Regions from separate parts of the Homo sapiens genome. Here region 2 is linked to region 1. Evidence: promoter capture Hi-C in 16 types of primary human blood cells and fetal thymus (Javierre and others, 2016). All regions are on one chromosome and are shown on one strand. Each heading gives the region's core, a stretch centred on a gene start or on the middle of the fragment in contact. The rest is flanking DNA. Distances are from core to core; before and after follow the strand shown.

Region 1 (3,059 bases), core at 186-2,685:
AATCGCTTGACCCAGGAGGTGGAAGCTGCAGTAAGCCGAGATTGCGCCACTGCACTCCAGCCTGGGTGACAGAGCGAGACCCCATCTCAAAACAATCAAACAAAAAGTGAATCAATCGCCTCTTGCTTTTTGGCTAAGATCAAGTGTAAAAGGTACATCAGTGGCTGTGCATGGTGGCTCACGCCTGTAATCCCAGCACTTTGGGAGGCCAACGTGGGTGGATCACCTGAGGTCAGAAGTTCAAGACCAGCCTGGCCAAACATGGCAAAACCCCGTCTCTACTAAAAATACAAAAATTAGCTGGGCATGGTGGTGTGTGCCTGTAATCCCAGCTACTCGGGGGGCTGAGGTAGGAGGATTGCTTGAACCTGGGAAGCAGAGGTTGCAGTGAGCCGAGATCGTGCCACTGCACTCGAGTCTGGGCAACAGAGCGAGACTCCATCTCAAAAAAAAGAGGTACATCAGCTCTTGTCATTTATCTGCTGTCTCTGGACTTGCTGACCCCACCCATCGCTCCTCTGCTTTGCTTGATCCCTTCAGGCTTCTCTTCAAGTCTCTCTGCAAAGATGCCTGCCTCTGAACACTCAAGTGGCTCCACTTGTCCCCTCCTTCCCCTGCTGTTACTGTACCTGCTACTGTCCCCCCAGGGGGAGCTTTGCCTCTGTTTGTCTTCCATCCCCAGCACCTGGTCCAACTGGTTCATAACAAGCCTTAGATACCTGTTCGCTTAGATACCTGTGTCAGGGAGACACACCTGACACCTTGAAAGATTATATCACATCTCTTGTATTTCCTGGCCCCCTCAGGAGAGGCAAGAGAAAGCTCTGGGCATCCTGACATACCTGGGCCAGAGTGCAGCGGAGGCACAGACTCAACCCCCTTGGTACCAGCTACCCCCAGGGCGAGGGGGCCCCCCGCCCGGCCCAGCCCCAGATGAGAAGATCAAGAGCCGTCTGGACCCTCTGCGGGAGATGCAGAAGCATCTGGGGAAGAAGAGACAGCACGGCGGTGATGAAGGCAGTCGCAGCAGAAAGGAAAAGGAGGGGTCTGAGAAGCAGCGACCCAAGGAGTAAGAAGACCCCACCTCGGCAGACCAGGGCCCAGACCTTCAGGGCTTGGCAGCAGCCCAGCATGGGCACTGCAGCGTCTCTGGTCAGGACAGCCAGGGACTCCGTGAAGGGCTGGCTAGGTGGAGAAGTGGTTCTCAGCATGTGGTCCAGGGAGCCCTAGGGGTCCTGACACCCTTTCCCGGGGTGCTGTGGTGTCAAGCCTATTTTCCTGACACTGGTGGACTTTTCCACTCGTGTTCTCAGGCATGTAGTGCAGGTTTCCAGAGGCTGTGTGATGGGGAGACACCCTCACTCTGATGGCCAATGGCAGATGCTTGTGTCCAAACTTTCTTAGTTTTCACTAATGATTTGCAGCATATTAAGAGAACCCATTTAAACAAAAGCTCTTGGGGTCCTTGGTTTTTAAGAGTATAAAGGGGTCCTGAGACCAAAGAGTTTGAGAGCTGCTGGGTTAGAGAGTAAAAGCAGGCTTCTGTCTCCAGGATGCTGCACCCCTGGTCTAGAGGGGGTACACTGCCTGTAGTCTTCTTTCCTCTAGAAAGGGAAACTGAGGGCCAGGGGGCTGCTAAGTGTGCTTTCTTGACCTGGAGAAGCATCAGATTTTAAAGACTGGGGAGGACCAAAGCCCACAGAAGGGAAGGCCAGAGACGTGCCCATGGCGTCCCAGCACCAAGTGGCTGCTTCCAGCAGGCCTAAGGAGCTGAGGCTGGGGTGTGCTGGATGCAGCGGGGCTTCCAGGCGGCAGCTCCCTCTATGGGAGAGGTTGGGGGAATGGCCTCCTAGGGGCTACCAGCTTTCTGACCTCACTCCTCTCCCCACAGGCCTCCATCCCTGGACCAGCTTCGAGCTGAACGTCTGCGGAGGGAAGCAGCTGAGAGGTCTCGGGCAGAGGCCCTGCTGGCCCGGGTCCAAGGCCGGGCACTACAGGAGGGTCAGCCGGAAGAAGACGAGACGGATGACCGGCGGCGGCGGTACAACTCCCAATTCAACCCCCAGCTGGCCCGGCGCCCCCGCCAGCAGGACCCTCACCTTACTCACTGACTCCTGAGGGGGTACAGGAGAGGCCGCTGCTGCCAGCCGTCATATAAAACTATTTATTCATAAATATTTTCCAAAATGAAAATAGGTTTACCAAAAAATGTCCCTCACTGGGGAGGGGAGGAGGGGGCAGCCCTCGCCCCCGGGCCCCCAGGGTGGGGCTGAGAGGAAAACCTCCCGGCCCCCTCCCTGCTTCCTGGGAGAGGGGGATGCCCCGTGGCTTGGGGCCTCCCTCCAGTCTTCCAGGGCAGGGCCCTCACCTGGGCAGGGGGATCAGCATGCGGGGGAAGGGGGTGGGTAGAGGGAGGGGCCGGTGTCACTGGAGGTCCCGGTCCTCCAGGTAGCGGTACTCAAAGGTGAAGCCTTCCTTCTTCCGCTGGCCCCACTTCTCGTAGTCAAAGTAGATGTAGGTGCCCTGGCCGGGGGAGAAGGCGGTCAGTGAGTGGACGAGGAGGTGGTCTGGGATCTGGGCCGGACCAACAGACAAAGGGGACAATTCTTAGGGCTGTGGATGTGTCAGGCACCGGGCCAGCTGCCCTGCACGCACACACTCTCATCCATCCTCACAAGGTTCTTCTTGGGTAGGAAATGTTATCATGCCACTTCAGCGAGGAGGAAACGGAGGGGGCCGCAGAGGTTCCACCGAAGCCAGCTGCCAGAACGGGGCCCCAGCCCCAGGTGTGAGTGCACAGCCTTCGTTTCCTCGAGGGCTGTGGCTTTTGAGCACCTCTCACGTGAGTACAGGATGCACAGCCTAGCATTTAATCTTCACAAAGACCTCGAGGCAGTGGGTACTGTCACCCTTGTTCTAGAGAATGGAACAGTCTCAGAGTCTAAATCCAAGCACTCTGCAGGGACATTTTATTGGTGACGAAGTGGTGTGGGAATTTCTGAATGACTGGATGCCCTGAAATGTACTAACTTGGAGGATGGTTTTGGGCCAAACCAGGA
Region 2 (3,059 bases), core at 209-2,708, 270 kb after region 1:
CGCCCCCCTCTCCCGCCCCCCAGAACTGCCGGCCCCGCCCGGCCCCCACTCGCCCATTGGTGACCCCACCCGGCCTGCCCCTGCCTAGGACGGCTGGTGTTGTCATGGCGACGGCAGCCTGGGGTGGGGGGGGGCTCTGACTTTGCATCTCCAGCCCCCTCCCCCTTCCCCCCTTCAGCTCCCCTTTTCCAAATCTCCATGTTCCCATGGCAACAGATTCTCCAAATATCTGTCCCCACCTGGAGCCGGCCGAGGGAGGGGCCCCCAGCACCACCTCCGCGGTGGCCCCACCATCAAAGCTCCCTCCCCACCACAGGCTGTGTCTCTGCCACACCCCCCGCCCCGGGCTCCCCCGCGCCTCTCTGGGGACCAGAGAACACGTGTGTCAAGCAGCCTCAGCTGTGGGGCCCCAGCCTCCACCCTCCTGAGGGTCCCAGGAGCCCCGGTCCCCAGCTCTTACCTTGACATTGCAGGCCCTGCTTTCCGATACCCCTGGAAGAGTCAGGGATCCTAGGTCAGTGCAGAAAGGGGTACCTGGACCCCCAACCTCTGCGAGCCACAGGGGGCCTGCGCTCTCTGACCCTCCTCCCGCAGGGCCCAGGTGTCCAAGCCCCGGCCACCTCCTCTTTCTAGAACCCAGAAATTTTGGCCCCCAGCCCTTCTTCCCTTAGACTGGAGTTCAGCCCCCAGTTTCTTCCTCCTTCAGACCCAGGAATCCAGGCTCCCAGCCCCCCAGGCCCTTCCTCCCTCAGACCCAAGACTCCAGGACCTCTGTCCTCCAGCCTCCTCCTCCCTCGGACCCAGCACTCCAGGAACCAGCCTCCTCCTCACTGAAACCCAGGAGTCGAAGCTCCCAGCGTTCCCTGGCCATCCTAGAACCTGGGAGTCGGGACTACAGCCCCCTCCTTCTTCCTTCCACAGGGGTCGGCGTGATAGGAGTCTGCACCCCTAGTCCCCTCGTCCCCCAGTCCCCCAGCCCCCTTCCCTCACCAGATGAAGTCGGTGCAGTGGCTGCAGAAGGTGGGCTGCTTGAAGAAGCGAGCGGTGAACTTGTGGCTCTTGACTTCGTGGACCACCTTCTGCCTCAGGGCCCCCTTTCTGCAAAACAGGGGCCGGGGTCCCCCCTCTGAATCGCCTACGCCGGGGCCCAGACCAGCCATGGCCCCAGAAACGTAGCAGGGACCAGGATCCTGCCTTTCTTGGGGGAAACAGGTGGAAGGGAGAGGAGCTGGAGACTCGAAGGATCAAAGGAGCCACAGGGAAATTCCGAGGTGGGCAGGAGAGGGGCAAGGCACCTCCAGGTGCGGAGCGCGCCAGGCAGGGAGCGGCACCCCGGGCGCGCCGGCTCCGCCAGGGGGAGCGGGCGAGTGGGGAGGAAGAGCCAAAGGCAGGGGCGCCGGCAGCCGGAGGCACGGGCGGCGGCGGTGGGAGCTCCAGCTCCGGCACCTGCTGAAATGTGGGAGCCCCGGGTTGGGGGAGGCGTTGCCAGGACGACCGAGAGGGCGGGGTTTCGGCTTAAAGGCGCTCCCCTCCCGGAGACACGGGACAAATGTCCTCCCTCCCCGCCCCCCACACGTGCACACACCCACTCCGGGGGCTGGCTGGAGGGAGGGGCATCCTCTGAGCCTGGCTCCCCCCCACCACCCTGCAATCTGTCATCCTGCCCCGCGTTCCTCCCCCACTAGGGTGCCTCGTGTGTCCTGTGGGCGCCCTGGGGTCCCTGTGTCTGACCCTGCCCCTCTCCTTCCTTCAACAAACTTTATGCTCCACGCTAGGGGTCCAGCAGTGGACAGGCAGGGCGCTAAGGTTCTCACTTTCTCCGATGCCGGCTGAGTCTTTATTTCCTCCCCTGGCCTCTCCATTATTTGTGTAGCTCTCTGCCTGCGTGTGTCTTTCTTGTGACCTCTGTCCCTCTCCCTCTATTCCTGGAGCGAGCTTTCTCGATGTGTCTCTGTTTCTGCCTCTCAGTGGATCTGTTTTCTTTTCCCTGTCTCCGAGAAATGCTGTTTCTATTTCTTTCTATTTCTCTATTTCCTCTGCTGTGTGTCTCCATCTGTATCTGTCGCCATCTCTGGGTCTTGGTGTCGTGGTTCTTCTCGGGGTCTTGGTCTGCCTCACTGTGAATCAGTCTCCCTCTGTCTCTCCCTCTACGTCTGATAAATTCTTCCGCCTCTGTCTCCCTGAGTTTGTTTCTTTCCCTGTCTTTGTCTCTCTGGCTCTGTGAATCTCTATTCTCTCTCAGGCTGTGACTCTGTCTCCCCCTCCCTCTGCAACTTGATCTCTTTGGGAGTCCGTCTCTGTCTTCCTCTCTGGGAGTCACTCTCTAAATGCTTGCCCCTGTCTCTCCCTCTCTCTCCTCACCTCCACCCGTCTTTATAAATGCCTTTGTCTCTGTCTCTCTCCCTTCCTCCGGTTCTGCAACTCCGTCTCTGTTTTTGTTTGTCTCTTCCTATATCTCTCTGGTTCCATCTGTTTCTCTGTACTTGTCCCTCTCTGGCTCTGTTGATCTCTCTCTCTCTCTCTGATGCTAGGGGGGTCTCTCTCCTGTCTATGACTCAGTCTCTCTCTCCCTCTTCTCTTCTCTGTCTCTGTCCCTTTCTCTCTGACCCAATCTCTCTCCCTCTTCTCTTCTCTGTCTCTGTCTCTGTCCCTTTCTCTCTGACCCAATCTCTATTTGTCTCTCTGGCTCTATGAATCTCTTTCTGTTTCTGGGGATCTCCCCGTCCCTCTGTGTCTGTGATTCACTCTCCCTGTGTCTCTGGCTCTCTGAATCTATTCATCTCTCTGACTCTCTGAATCTGTGTCTCTGGCTCTATGAATGTCTATGTCTCTCTGACTCTGAATCTGTGTCTCCGGCTCTATGAATGTCTCTCTATGTCTCTCTGACTCCCTGAATCTGTGTCTCTGGCTCTATAAATCTATGTCTCTCTGACTCTGAATCTCTCTGTGTCTCCGGCTCTATGAATGTCTCTCTATGTCTCTCTGACTCTGAATCTCTCTGTGTCTCTGGCTCTATGAATCTCTATGTTTCTCTGACTCTGAATCTCTCTGTGTCTCTG

What was found. Contacts are between HindIII fragments. The CHiCAGO score rates a contact against its expected background, and 5 or more counts as called.
Region 2: the fragment with the promoter of PRKCG here is called in contact with a fragment that was not itself captured in region 1 in 1 of 17 cell types (fetal thymus); the score reaches 5.1 in fetal thymus.

What each region holds. Positions count from the first base shown.
Region 1 is chr19:54,154,773-54,157,831 of GRCh38, reverse strand. It overlaps CNOT3 (CCR4-NOT transcription complex subunit 3), which reads right to left. Exons shown (of 18, transcript NM_014516.4): 18 at 2,151-2,523. The coding sequence ends at 2,425. LENG1 (leukocyte receptor cluster member 1) reads left to right here. Exons shown (of 4, transcript NM_024316.3): 3 at 807-1,069; 4 at 1,892-2,671. The coding sequence ends at 2,111. Among named protein-coding and RNA genes, the nearest start is that of LENG1, 3.4 kb to the left of the region's middle. The HindIII fragment of the contact is 5,805 bases long and covers 1-3,059 here.
Region 2 is chr19:53,880,596-53,883,654 of GRCh38, reverse strand. PRKCG (protein kinase C gamma) reads right to left here and starts at 1,458. Exons shown (of 18, transcript NM_002739.5): 1 at 991-1,458; 2 at 461-492. The coding sequence starts at 1,160. RefSeq lists an enhancer at 455-1,006. The HindIII fragment of the contact is 17,886 bases long and covers 1-3,059 here.